3 separate regions of the Homo sapiens genome follow, and all the other regions are linked to region 1. Evidence: promoter capture Hi-C in 16 types of primary human blood cells and fetal thymus (Javierre and others, 2016). All regions are on one chromosome and are shown on one strand. The core of a region is centred on a gene start or on the middle of the fragment in contact, and the rest is flanking DNA. Distances in the headings are between cores, read along the strand shown. Region 1 overlaps FTO (FTO alpha-ketoglutarate dependent dioxygenase). Region 2 holds the start of MMP2 (matrix metallopeptidase 2). Region 3 holds the start of IRX6 (iroquois homeobox 6).

What was found. Contacts are between HindIII fragments. The CHiCAGO score rates a contact against its expected background, and 5 or more counts as called.
Region 2: the fragment with the promoter of MMP2 here is called in contact with a fragment that was not itself captured in region 1 in 2 of 17 cell types (M2 macrophages and monocytes); the score reaches 5.9 in M2 macrophages.
Region 3: a contact is called between the fragment with the promoter of IRX6 here and a fragment that was not itself captured in region 1, in 1 of 17 cell types (M1 macrophages). The highest score is 5.6, in M1 macrophages.

Annotation. Positions count from the first base shown.
Region 1 is chr16:53,944,358-53,949,164 of GRCh38, reverse strand. The region is part of intron 8 of FTO (FTO alpha-ketoglutarate dependent dioxygenase); the gene reads right to left. Among named protein-coding and RNA genes, the nearest start is that of FTO-IT1, 93 kb to the left of the region's middle. RefSeq lists an enhancer at 2,914-3,208. The HindIII fragment of the contact is 2,260 bases long and covers 1,449-3,708 here.
Region 2 is chr16:55,476,382-55,481,188 of GRCh38, reverse strand. It overlaps MMP2 (matrix metallopeptidase 2), which reads right to left and starts at 1,991. Exons shown (of 13, transcript NM_004530.6): 1 at 1,557-1,991. The coding sequence starts at 1,709. The HindIII fragment of the contact is 12,132 bases long and covers 1-4,807 here.
Region 3 is chr16:55,322,308-55,327,114 of GRCh38, reverse strand. IRX6 (iroquois homeobox 6) reads right to left here and starts at 2,912. Exons shown (of 6, transcript NM_024335.3): 1 at 1,979-2,912; 2 at 522-779. The coding sequence starts at 2,023. RefSeq lists an enhancer at 615-1,115. The HindIII fragment of the contact is 7,317 bases long and covers 1-4,807 here.

The DNA.
Region 1 (4,807 bases), core at 1,329-3,828:
CTAGCAATAAGTCCCAGTCCTTCCTTTCTGAGAATTAAACCCTTTATCAAATTCAAAACTGCCAACATTTTTGTGGACACCTTTTTATGGTGACAATGAGCACCATATACACCTCATTCACTTTTGGAAACTCTCATATACTTTGTTTATAAAAGGAAAGATGAAATAGTGCCAAGTTCAAGGCAACACACACGTACACACATACACACTCACGCGCAAGAACCTACATGGAATAATGCAATGTTACAAGGTCACAAGGTCACAGAGGCAATACACAGATTGTGTACTGGTCTCCCAGCCAGGGTCATTCCTTCTATTCTTGAGAAGTGTGAGAAGATGGAGAAGGTTTTTAATTCAAAGCAGTCAGGACTTTCATTCTATAGCAGAATCCTGCCCACAATGTCCAGGCTCCACACATGTTTTGATTAGCCTAACAGTTACAAATATTTGAATTCATGCTAACATTTAAATCACTGTGAGACTTCGGAAGCATACACATACAATATGAATGTTCCACTTCTGTTGAAAATGTGGAAGACCTACTAACATAGATCCTGCCTCCTCGCAAGGCTGGATAGCAGCTGCCTGGCTGCCCACTTGAGACAAAGTGTGAATGTCCGCTGGCCAGGAGACCAGAAGACAATCTGGGTATTGCCTCTGTGACCTTGTAACATTGTTCTACTCTATGCAGATTCTGGCATACACACACACGTGTGTTTTGCCTTGAACTTAACAGTGTCTCACCTCTCTGGCTTTATCTACATACATGATTACCATGGCCTACAGACATCTGAATCTGCAATCCCTGGTCTGAGTTCACTAGCATTCACTAGAAAACTCACAAATATCCAACTCTCATGCCCCCATCATCAAAAGCTCAGACGAATACTTCCTTCAGAAAGCCCGGTGCCTCTTTGGACATGAATTCACTATTCCATGTGTCCTTCAAATCCCTCCAAACCAGGTCTCTTATACAGCCGCAGTGTAATGATCTGAGGCACTCTTCGTACAAAAACTAGTAGATGTGTGAATGCAATAAAAGTGCTCAGAAACACACAAGGAGAAATCACCAGCTAAGGGAATGGCTCTCTTACTTTACAATGGCGAGTTCTCAACCTGCCACCGAAACCACCACTGTTTGTGTACGCGTCACTCAAACTCAGACTTTGATTTATACATGCAGGCGTACTTTCTTAACACACCCTCTCTGACTTTTCTGCCATAGCCCGTTTCCAATGCCACTAGAAGATGCTGTGCTTAATACAGCTTCCCAATTCTCCAAGGCCCCCTCAAAGCTTTTAAAGCTAGCATAACATGCAGAATTTCAAATGAAGTACCAACAGCAGAAAGATCATTTACAGTAACTATACAAACAAGCTAAATGAAAGACTTGTGTTCAGTCATTAAAAATAATAATGCTAAAGCCCCGAGGGCTGAAATGTAAAGCTTAGACTTCGTGTGAGGAAATAGAAAAGGAGTGTGTTTATTATCCCAATAAGATAACCTGTTAATTTATTTAGTAGGCAATTTTCGAGTACATTCGTCCACAGTGAAATCTCGCTTTATCAGATTATATGAAAAATCACCACCACAAATAAAATGCTCGTTCAAGCCAGGGGCTTTTGCAAGATAGAAATTACCAAGTAGGAGACCAGTAAGGGGTGGCTGGGAAGTGCTGCCACTAATAGCTTCCGCCCCCTTATTCTCCTCCTCTCCTGAACCAAGCCCAGAGTTAGTTATAGAGTTATCTATCTCACACTTTGCAGATGATGCCTAACATCATGACAACAGAGAAGAGGAAAGGTCTCTGGACCTGCCTACCTACAACAAGTTTCTGTAAAGTAATGAATACAGACAGCTTGGGGACCATCCACCTGCGCTGCCTGCCTCTTCCTGCCTGCAAAGTGAAACCACCAGGGATTGGCAGAAGGTACTTGTCTGACAGGGCCAGGACAGCCTTTCTCCTCAGTGACAGCCTGGGCCTACCCTCTTAAACTTGACCCACCATAATTCCTTCACAGTGCAGCAGCAAGGCAGCTGACAGTAGCAGCTGCAGCTCCTAAGCGAGATGGATGGAATTTTCATAACTAGTTCCCCAAGTTACATTTTACCTTCAAGATAATTTATGAGCTGCTCTGGAGCCTTGAAGAGACAATATGCTTGCCATAAAATTAACTGTAACAGTCTTGTAGGTTATAATTAACACTGGGAGGGTAGCACCAACTGGATGAAACACATGGCGTAATTGATGGTGAAACTGGAAATGAAGCAAGCTAACAATATCATTACTGTGCAGGCTGCCTTAGCAAAACCTATGCTTTCCGAGGGTTCATTGCAGTTGCCTCCCAGGCCCGTATTCTGGTAGGAAAGAGGCCAGAGCTGGGCAGAGGGGTGGAGGTTTTGCTGGCCAGGCCATGGGGTACCTGGACAGATACAATGGCTGTCAACAGTCTGGAAAGAGAGCCGTAGCACAGCATCTGGTCATATGCTTCCTGGAGTTCAGACCAGGCCCTACATAAGCCTTCCTTGTAGATATGACTTCATTTTTTCAGTAAACAGCAACTTTTTCAGTGAAAAAAAATATAAGAATAAAAAGAAGACAATAGGAACTTCCAAAACGCCCTTCCAAGGATTGGGACATTTATTTAGCATACATTCTGGAAGCAAAACAACTTAATATGAGCATATCTTAATAAAAAATGAAGATGGTTAACTAAACCTAAAGGTTTATTAAACTAAAAAGTAACGTCCTGAGCACCCTATCCAAAGTTGACTATGGAGAGAAAGGTAATCAGAAGAGTCCCATCAAACACTCCTGTCTCAGAAAGAACCACTAACCTATTTCTTTCACGCATGGATACTGAACAGTCTGACCAATACCTGAGAAGTCCTGAACATTCTAAACACATTGGAACGATTCAAATAATTCTAATAAGCATTTTCAAGGTGATTCAACTATTTTTTTTTGTTTTCTGATTTGTTTGGTTTTGTTTTTTTTGTCCTGGGACAATAGACTGGAAAATTCTAATAAATGATGCAACAGTGTCCCCTACAGGCCAGTAGAGCTGTTCCTTCCCCTTCCCCCATCCTCCTCCACCATGACTTCCTCAACTGAAAGCCAGAGTTAAACTTTTATCTATAACATTACAGAGTAAATTTGTAAAATACACTGGGGATACCCCTGAGATAGAATAAAATTACTACTCTTCATGTGTGGTAAATTGTTTCCTAGATATAAACAAACTGTACAGCTGGTGATTAACCCATTATGGAGTAGATAAATTGCTACCCTTTCACCTTAAGGGCACCCACTGAAATCAGCCTTGACTAACGCAGCCCCAAAATTACTTGACTTAGAGGATTTACAGAGATTTACAGATTCTTGGAGGCTAAACTTTGGTGTTCTAATTTTCACCCCTACTCTCCCACCTTCTAAAAGACTGTAACCAATATAAAAGAAATGACAGAGCATATAAAGGTGATAACTTTCCTTTAAAAGATCCATGGCAGGGAGATTGATAATGCATTAGCTGGATACTATTTCCTTATAGAGATGCACCCACAACTAAAAAGTGTAAAACATGTTAGGTACCAGAGGAAATAAATATGTAAAGATACATACCTGCCTATCTCCACACTGAGAAGGATCCTAGAAGGTCTCTAAAATACTAAGTGAATCGTATCAGTGGTTGATTAAAAACTAAAGCTTTGTTATTGCTCTTGGCCAACCTGGGCCGTCTTGGCTTAAATTCCATCTTCACTACTTACTAGCTGTTGCCTTGGGCAAGTTACTCTGCACCTCTGTGCCTCGGTTTTCTCATCATATAAAACATTTAAAACTCTGTCTGGAACACAGTGACTTCTCAATAAATGTCAGCTGCTATTGTTGTTAAAATTAGTACAATTGCAGACTTCAGGGAAAGTGGAAGTAGAGGAGTGAAACCCATCAGGAGTAACATCCACTTTTCCCTGCTCCCGGGGATCTCACGTATGGAGCCACTCCTTGTGAGAGCTGGAAGATGCCTCCCACTTTTGGGGCGATCGAGATCAAGTCGCTTCTTTCTTACATAAAGTTGCTAAGGCGTAGAGTGTCTGTGACATGCCCAGAGTCCTATAGTCACTAATGATGGGATTCAAACTGGAGTCCAGCCCTCCACCTGTCAATTCTGTGTGACACTGCTGAGCACAGAGCACCAACTCTGTCTAGTGTTCTTCCCTGCACCAATTTTGCAATATCAGGCCCCTACCAGGAGGCTAGGATATTTACTTCATGAGGCATTCTCTCAAAGGAGAGGCCAATTTGGATAAGGGTGGCTGGGTTTATTCCTGGCTTTATTGTTTTGATCTGAAGATCATGATAGGTCATTTTTATTGAACACCTAATACGTTACAGGTACTTGCTCTGGGTGTTTTACATTTAATCACTTAATCAACCCTATGAAATGGGTTCTATTATTATCATCCCCTAGGCAAATAACAAACGAGAAAATTGAGGCTCAGAGGGGTTAAGTAACTCATCTAGTTACAATCCACAATTGTAACTTGCCTGGAGTTATAGAAGTGGATCCAAGATTCAAACCCAGGCAATCTGATTCAGAATCTATGCCCCCAAACATATTAATTAAATTTACTCTGAAAGAAAACCATTTTTCCTCCACAAACTTTATACAATGGAAAGAAGGTAGCACAACTTTTATACAATGACCTATCCTCACGTATAAATTTCTCTCCTATTTCTCACTCATGCTTTGAGACAAATAGCTACCTATCTACTGGTAGCCAACACAATTGGGGAATGGAGCAGTAT
Region 2 (4,807 bases), core at 742-3,241, 1.5 Mb before region 1:
AATAACCATATGTATACTCAGTCCAGCAGCCCATTCCCTGCTCTGTCTATGGAATAATCACCCTTTTATTCCTTTACCTTCTTAATAAATTTGTTTTCACTTTACTCTGTTGGCTCGCTCTTGAATTCCTTCCTGTGCAAGCCAAGAACCCATGTGGCCCCCAGGCTGAACCCCAATTTAGGGGTTCATCCTGTGACCCATTGGCTGGAAAAGGTGTAGGAAACCAAGTAGCTTTGTCATTGTCCCAAAGCTCCACTCTCACCCCCACCCAACAGCCACATCATTATGCCAGCCAGCTCCAGATCCTTGAAAAAAGTAGCCCTCTAAAAATGTATGGAGGTTTCCCAACCCATCTATCCAGAGGGGGCTGAGACCTAGCTGTTTGGAAGGGTGAGAGTTGGGAGAGGGTAGTTGTCACCTCCTGAAGGAGTTCCTAGGGTGACCAGAGGGCATGGGCGTCTTCTCCCGGACAGGTTGAGGGGGAGGCTGGAGGGCAGGGTGGCTGAAGCAACAAGGGAGCAGATATCCCCTGGACTGGAAAGGACATCTTGATGGGTCCCTGGCCTGCCTCTCTCCTCAGGCCCTACTTACGCAACACTGCGGCCAGGCTCAGTGCCCCTCCAGCCAGGCGCGCGCACGCTCACAAGACAACATCTGAACCGCGGTTTGGGAGCCCAGCCAGGAAGGAGGGCTCTCTGGCCGCTCTCCGACCCGAGCGGAGCGCAGTCCGCCCCCGCCCCACGCGCCGGGCCCTCCAGCGCCTGCCCCACTCCTCCTCCCTCCTGCCGGGCCAGCTCTCTCCTTCTTTTCTCCGACCCTTTGGAGAAGTTCGAGGAAACTTTCCGAGGCCCAGCCCTTGACCAATTTGTCCATTAAGCCAGGAGAAAAAAGATGCGCTCTCTGCTTCCCTCCTGCCCCAATCACTTCCCAAATGGCCCCCTCGAGCTGTTTGTTTAAAGGTCCCTCTCCGGATCTGTGCCGAAGGTTCCTAGAAATTTGCCAAGCCCCGCTTTGACCAAGCTCCCTCCCATCCTTATGCGCGCATAAGTTTACCCAAATTGTGTGCCAGAGCACCGTTCCCAAAGTCCTACATTAGCAAAAACGACCCCTGTAGCTGTTTGCCAAAGGCTTACCTAGACGCTTGGCAAGAGCCCTTAGCAACTGCCCAGATGTGTCCAAAAGTTGTTTACAAAGACCGCCCCCCCCCCCCGCCAAATGTCCCAGATACTAGAGGATGTCCCCGCTATTTACATAAGAGTCCCTTTCCAGTAGTTTGCCAGGTCACCCCTCTCCCACTCTCTGGCTTGTTTTTCGCCCCACTGCTGTATGCTGAAGGTTGCCAAATTGTTTATCAAAGGTTTTCTTTGCTTACAAAAGATCCCCCACCGTTTGCAAGAGATCACTCCAATAGCTTGCCAAAGACCCCCCAAGCTGTTTACCGAAGCCCCTCCCCCACGCTGTGTGCCCACCGCCGAGGGCAGGGGGAGAGACACCCCCATCCTTTGCCTCCGAAGTTTGTCTAAACGTGGTTCCTTGAGGCCAGCGCAGCAACTCACCACTGCCAACTCTTTGTCCGTTTTGGGGGCGACATCGCCGGGGAACTTGATGATGGGCGACGGCGCGGCGGCGGCGTGGCTCAGCAGGCAGCCCAGGAGACAGAGCGCCCTCAGGGGACCCGTGAGCGCGCCCCGGGCCATTAGCGCCTCCATCGTAGCGCTCCCTGGCCCCGCGCGTCGCCCGGGGGTCGCTGGCTCGGTGCGTGTGGCCGCCTCGCCGCCTGGTTGGAGCCTGCTCCGCGGCGCAGGGCTGCGCTCCGAGGGTCCGCTGGCTCGGTGGCCTGGGGTTTGCCCGGCTCAGCGGCTCATGGTCCGGCCCCCGCGCCCCAGCCCCCGCCGCCGCCGCCGCCGCCGCAGGTCCTGGCAATCCCTTTGTATGTTTAAAGCCCCAGATGCGCAGCCTCCAGCCACCGCCTGAGGAAGTCTGGATGCAGCGGAAACAAGGGAGGGCAGCCGCCAGATGTAGCCGGCTGGGCTGGGAGGGAGCTGGCAGAGCGGGGCTGGGGGCGGGGGGCGCACTCGGGCCCGCCCCTCTCTGCCCCACCCCCCTACTCGCCCTCCTCCACTTTTCTCCTCTTTTTTCCTTTCTCCACCTCTTTTCCCCGGCCGCCTGCTACTCCTGGCCTCTACGTCCACCCTCAGTGCACGACCTCGTCACCCCACTTGCCTCTCTCGCGATCTGGGCGCACAGCCTCAGAACCCCCTGCTGGGAAACATCTGTCGCTCTAGGCCCTTGACGTCCTGAGGTTAGAGAGCAGCGGTACTACTAGGAGGGACGCCGGCTTGGCTAGGACACCCTGCACTCCCTGGGGTCAGGAACGGGAAGGAATGGTCAGAAACAGATGATCAGCCACAATGATAGATGGTCAGAGACAGAAATTTTCGATATTTAGGGATAGGGACAGAGAGATTCTGGGATGAACAGAGATGGAAAGAGAGAGATGGAAACAGAGACAGTGGAAGGTCCCAGGTTGCTTCCTTACCTCTTTCCTTCTGCAAATGTGTAAGCCTTAACTTGGCCTCGTATAGTGCGAGATGCTAGATACACCTTGGGAAATAGAGCAGTCAGGGGCCCCGCGTTAGAGACGTTGGAACCAGAGCGACTCCATCTTGAACAGGGGGCTGGGTAAAATGAGGCTGAGACCTGCTGGGCTGCACTCCCAGGAGGGTCCGCATTCTCGGTCACAGGATGAGATAGAAATTGGGCAAGACTGGTTTAATAAGATAGAGGTCACAAAGACCCCACTGATAAAACAGTATGCAGTGAAGAAGCCAGCCAAAACCAAGATGGCAAAGAAAGCGACCTCTGGTCATCCTCACTGCTCATTTTACGCTAATTATAATGCATTAGCATGTTAAAGGAAGCACCCACCAGTGCCATGGCAGTTTATAAATGCCATGGCAATGTGGGGAGGTTTACCCTATATGGTCTAAAAAGGGGAGGAGCCCTCAGTTCCACGAATTCCCCACTCACTCTTGAATCCTTTCCTGCGCCAAGCCAAGAATCCATGTGGCCTCTCAGGTCGAATCCCAATTTTGAAGTTCTCCCTGTGACAACCGTCTCTGAGGAATGTCTTCTCCCTCTCTCAGGAAAGACAGTTGAGAGATAAGCTGTGATGGGGAACTCCAGCAGGCTGTTGGGAACGCCTGACTTCAGCCCCTAAACTAGTAAAGACAATCAAGGAAGGCTTCCTGGAAGAAGTGACTTCTGAGCTGAGACCTGAAGAGCTAAAGAGGTGGAGTGCTGGGTGGGGAATATGGGGAATGTTTTAGGGAACATTGACAATGGCCCAGAGATGAAAAACAGCAAGAGGCACTGGAGAAGAAAGTTTTTTCTATCTGAAAAAGGTGGGGCACAGGGTGAGGGGATGGAGCTGGAGGGGTCAGTAAGGACCAGCCTAGGAAGGGGGCAGATAGGACTGGGGGTCAGCAGGGAACAGTTTGAGAAGTAAGGTCAGGGGCTGAAAGAATCAGGAGCAATATACTTGTGGGGGGCATTGGAGGTCACGATTATGTCTTGATCATCACAGCTAGAAAAGTCTCTGCGGCTTGGGTCTCAGTGGGCTTCAGACAAGTTCAGGCTTGTCTGGTGGGTGTGTGCTCTGACTTTCCAGAGTCAGTTTTAAAGGACCCTCTTGGGAGGGACCTTGCCCCGCAGGAGGGAGCCAGGCCCTTCAGCCTGACCCAGTGACAAACCTTGGCTGTTTTGGAGAGGGCGAGACTGAGGTCAGTTGGGAAGGGGGATTGCCTCCTGGCCCAGCCCCACTGGGCTCATGTCCACGTCCTGTGGATAGCCAGAGAGCCAAGTTGGAGAGCTGAGAGCTGAGAGTGAAAATGGAAAAAGTTATCTCACTAAAGCAGGGGCTGCAAACTCGTGGCCTGTGGGCTAAATCCAGCCTGAACAGCATTTTGAAATTTGGGAAACTTCATGTAAAAATCTGACTTTCTGGTTTTCTTTTTTTAAAAAAATTTCCCAAAAATCTGGCAATACTGGATGCCAGTTTCCATATGGCAATAATTTGCTGAAGTTGAGTAGTGACTGCTCCCTTTAGATGAGGCACATACTTTGGTTTGCCACAGTCCTCACCACTCTCTATTGTATTGCCTTGTATGTGACTCCCTTCACTAGGTGTTGTTCATTTACACTTGCCCAATTTGAGTTTTAACCTTTTCAGAAAGTCTCTGGAGTCTGCATAACATGCTTTGGAGCTCCTCTGGCAGAGGGCAGCTTTGACTGTACCTCTTCACAGCCTCTGTGGTTTTGGCATTCCAAGGGTATCGGTTTCCAGTGTGGGGCTTGGTGCCCATTCAGAGATGGCAATGGCTGCAGAAGCAGCACTCAGTGAGAGAGAGGCTTCTGTGCCCAGCAATGACTATGTCAGAGGCATTGGAACCAGAGCAACTCCATCTTGAATAGGGGTTAGACTAAGACCTGCTGGCCTGCATTACCAGTAAATTAAGGCAATCCTAATCACGAAATGAGATAGGAGGCTGGCACAAGATACAGGTCATAAAGACCTTGCTGATAAAACAGGTTGCAGTAAAGAAGCTGGCCAAGACCCACCAAAACCAAGATGATGATGAGAAAAACCTCTGGTCAGCCTTACTGCCACACTCCCACCAGCGCCACGACTGTTTACATATGCCATGGCAACGTCAGGAAGTTATCCTATACGGCCTAAAAGGCAGAAGCATGAATAATTTACCCCTTGTTTAGCATATAATCAAGAAATAACCATAAAAATGGGCAA
Region 3 (4,807 bases), core at 1,663-4,162, 1.4 Mb before region 1:
GATAATAGTACTTATAGGTTATTGAAGAAGACCATGCTGGCAGAATGCTTGGCAGAATCCCTGGTGCAGAATAAGCAGTAGTTAAATATTAGCTGCTGTTATTACTGTACCACTTGTCCCTCCCTCCTTTCCCCCCTTACTGCCCCCCACCCCCCGCCCCCTGCCCCACAACACACACCAGCTGGGGCACTTCCTGCTTTAATCTTCTTCAGGAGCTTTTCTCTGACCCTTTGTATCTCTGTGACATTGGGCAAAGTATTTGAACTCCTGTGCACCTCTATTTCCTCATTCTTAAATTGAGATTAATGATTACTTGCCTACCTCACAGAATTAATAGAAGTATAAATGTTTTCTAAACAGTATGAAGTTCTGCAAACTGTAAGGTACTGTATTTTTTTGTCCTCCTTATACACAGTCCTAACCATTTCCTTTCCTCGGGAGGTGTGGGTCTTTCCTTGACTTTCTCTGGATTTCACCTGTCTCTACTGCTCACTCCCCTGGGACTCCACCCCTGTACTCACCAGTGCCCCATACAGTGAGGGGGGCTCTGGGCTATAGGGCAGGTAGCCAGGGTAGCTCTGGGCAGCTGCAGCGGCCGCATAGGGTGCTCCATAGATGCCCAAGGCGGCGCCCAGCTCCGGTCGCGCACTGCCCAGCAGTCGACTATCGTAGGGTGCGCAGCAGAGAGCGGGCGCTGGGGTGGAGCCTGATGCCACATCTGAGACAGAGCGTTGGGTAGATTCGCAGCATGTGGTGCTGGAACTTGCCGACGCCAGAAACTATAGGGGCAAGAAAGAGGGCACTGGAGGTCAGAGACCCCCCCCCCACCCCCGCCCCCGCTCCCGCTGAAGGGAGCTAGAAACAAAGAAGAGAAAATCAGATAATCAGATTGCTCCTTCATTCATTCCTTCATTATGCATTAACTAAATGCCACCTGGGCTGAGCATTCTGTTAGGTGCTGGGACGGGAATTATAAATTAACCAAACTGCCCTTATAGATGCTCCTACTCCATTGCTAAGGCCCCAGAGCCCCAGGAGGCCGGGAAAATGTGAACATTTTGAAACCGGAATTAAAGACACCAAACCCTCTGCTCCCTTCCCTACCCTCCTCCCAGGATCCTGCAAAGGCGGAGCTAGAAGGTGGCCTTAGAGACCATTATTAACGTCTCATTCCTGCTCCCATTCTATAGATTGGGAGTGGATAATCAGAGAGAGTGTGAGACTTGTCTAAGATCACACAGCAGGTCAAAGGTCGAGCCGGCACTAGACAACAGGAAAATACACTCAGAACTCTAGAGAAAAGCTGGAGAACAGTGGAGGGGGTGTCCGCAGAACTTTCCCAGGAAACCCTTGTCATTGCACAACATCCACTTTGGTTTGGAAAATCGAGGGAACCGGAGAGCTTGGGCCCGCCCAAGGAAGGGGTAGGAGAATAGCCGAGGTCAACAAATCAACAACAATATGGTGAGATGGACAGCGTTGTAGCCTACAAGTTCTTTCTTTCTCTTTCTTTTTCTTTCTTTCTTTCCTTCTTTCTTTCTTTCTCTTTCTTTCTCTCTCTCTCTCTCTCTCTCTCTCTCTCTCCTTCCTTCCTTCCTTCCTTCCTTCCTTCCTTCCTTCCTTCCTTCCTTCCTTATTTCTTTCTTTCTTTTCTTTCTTTCTTTCTCTCCCGGCCACCTCAGACTTCTGTATAGGAGGAGGCCTGACTGGGAGATCCCTGTGATCCCACCCACCTCACTGAGCGCGTGGTCAGAGTGCTCATGTTTCAGGTCACAAGATTTTCCAGCGTGCACTCCGGGGTGAAACGTTCTCATTTAGGGACTGGGGATGTCAGAGGAGGCTGTGACACATTACCCTGGTCCTTGCTCCTTCTGGCTTCCCCCAGAACACAAGAGGAGGATGATCAGAGGCAGGCGCCGTGCACTAGGCACTCCCTCCACCCAGTCTGTCCCCTATCCCCCATAGAGGCGCCTCTTACCTGGGAAGCGCCGCGGTACGGGTGTCCAAAGTGTGGGAAGGACATGGTGGCTGTCCCTGGCCCGTCTCTCTCTTCCCTGTCGAGTTCCCGTCTCAGCCCAGCTGTTCCGCGCCCCCAGCAGTGAGGTGTCTCAGTTCCTTACACCGCTGCGGATGCCCAGCGCCGGTTCCTTCGCCTGGTTGGCCCCAGTGGAGGCAGAGCCGAGGGCAGCCCGGCTGCCGAGCCCTGCGCTCCGGAAGGCGCCCCTCCGGCCCGTGGGGTCCGGAAGACAGAAGGGCCCATGGATGGGCAGGGGAAGGAAGAAGATGCGGGTTCCCAAAGGCGCGTGGTGGCGAGGTGAGGCGCGGCGCGGCGCGGGGCTGTGAGGCTCCGGAGGTGTCCCAGTCCAAGGTGGCCAGAGGCTCAATGTGACGTCACGGTAATCCCGGGCCGCCAGACGGGACCCCGGGCCCCGGGACCCTGGGCCACCAAGCGTGCCAAGCGCAGCCAGCCCGTGCGCGCGCGCGCACTCTCACCCACACTCACACTTGCTCCGGGAGGTTTGTGCAGCTGGCGAGGAACGTCAAAAACCCTGACCCTCTCTGCTCGGCGCTGAATCCTACCCCTTTTCGCCTGGAGCTCACGCGCGCGCGCACACACACACAACCTCTCCAAATTACCCGGGAGAAGTAGGAGAAACGCCTCCCTCTGAGCCGCGCAGGCCCCGGGCGCAGCGCGCTCACCTCCTCCCCTGCGGCCCGGAGGAGGCGAGAGGCAACCGGGGCGGCGAGGGAGGAGAGAATACAAAAGAAGAGACAGGAGAAAAGTGGGGGAGAAAGGCAAGAGGGAGAAGGAGGAGGGGAGAGGGGAGACAGGAGTCTGAGTGAACAGAGGCGCGTGGGGGAGGGGGAGGGAGCTGGGGTGGGCGAAGGCTGGGCGGAGGCTGAGCACTGGCAGGTGGAGGAGAGCAGAGGCCCGGGGGAGAAGCCTCCAGCCCGGTTCCTCCGCCCCTGCGCTGAAGTAAAGTTTGTTCACGCCACAGGCCCGGCTCTCGTTGGAGCAGCTCCGGGCAGCGTCGGTGGATCCCACTGGCCCGCCCATCTTTGTCCTCGGGGATCTGGTTCCCCGCCTCAGCCTCCCCAGGACTCGGGCTAGATTCCGGCTCTCCAAGCCCTGGCCTGGCCCAGGGCCTTGACCTTGGAGCTTCTCTGCAGCTGCCTGGTCCTCGAGTAGGCCGGATAGCGCCCCCTCGAGGCCGAGGTTCGGGATCCCTCAGATTCCGTCGGGAAACTCGCCAGGTCCGATCCCTGGCAGCCGCAGGCTGCTTGCTAAGATCCCTGGGCATCTCCTCCGAAGGCAAGGCTTGGCTGCCTCGCGCGCGCGCCTCCCGCAGTGGCCGCGGGGCAGCCAGGGAGCCTGAAGAAGGCTCCCGGTCCGGGCTGCAGCCCCTGCGCTCCGCTGGGGGTGGCGCTGGAGAGCCGCAGTGGAGCGCTCCGGGAGGGCGGCCCATTCCCTGCGCTCCTCCTGGACGCCCGGCTGGGCCCAGCGGTCTGACCACCCCCTCACTCCATCCCAGGGGTCTTCAAAGGGGCACTGATGGGTGGGCGGCGGCAGGGGTGGGGGAGGCTCGTTGGTACCCAGGAAGGGGCTGCCTCCTCTAGGCCTGGCCCCGAGACATGGAACCTCCAATTTGCGAGCACGGTAGACTGCACATCTGAAGGCTCAGTACTCTGGCCCCAGCTGCCCTTCTGAGAGCCTCCAACCCGCGACGTCTAGGGGTGAAAAGGGACTGTCGGTCTGGTAGGGGAAGGTCTTCGGTGGGCACTGCAGGAATCCAGTGGGATTTGCAGGCCAGAAACCTCAGAAAGCCTTGCCTTTCACTTACCGGGGTCACCGCGCTTTATACTTTTAAAAGCGCTTTATACTTTTAAAGTTGCACCAGGCTCTTGCTGCAACTCCTCCAAGGAGCCATAGGGGTTGGTTCAAGGGCCCAGTTTTATTTTCTAGTTGAAACGCGAGAGCCTGTGGCCCAGAAGATAGCAACGGCTCTGGGTTCTTGTATGAGGCGGGGCAAGGTCTGGGGTCCTGGACGGGGCGTACCTCAACTCCAAGTTTGCCACTAGCACCTTACACTGATCTCTTTAGCATGACATCTCTAGGTCCCCACACCCCGTTTTAAAAACACATTCTGCAGAATGCTCAAGGAGCTTAAGCCACAAACCAGAGACTCCTCTGCTTAAGAGATTGTTAACATGAGGACAAGCTCCATTCTAAATACTAACAAACACAGCTACTGCTGCTGCTGCTGCTGCTGTTACCTTGGAGAAACCTTGCGTTCATCCAGGGAAACTCCTAGTTAGAAAAAGAATTATAGTCCTCACCAGATTGACTTAGTGATAAAAATTCACAGTAATAGATAGATCCCTTGATTTTTCAAAATGCACTTTGGAACTATCCACACATTTGCAGCTTGGATACATCTATGCTATTTTTTTAAAGTAAGAATTGGAGAGTATTCATTAAATTCATCCCTTGGGGAAGATTACTGCTAATTAATTAATTGCAAACATTTCCAGAGGGAAGGTATGTCAATTGTAAAGTAATAAAATTAGATAGTAGAAATACTGACTCAGCAACTTCGATTGCCCATTTGTTCCTAAGCAGAATTTTTTTTAAAAATTTTATGACAGAAAAATGGGGCTGGTGGTGGAGAAAAAGCATTAGCCCTGTCCCTTGGCGATATGGTTGCAAAGGAGAAACTACCATATAGGAATTATTGATTTTTAGCTGATTTATAAGACCTCTGTTTTATCAATGCTGTGTGCAGGGCCTCCAGGCCTACTTCTTGTC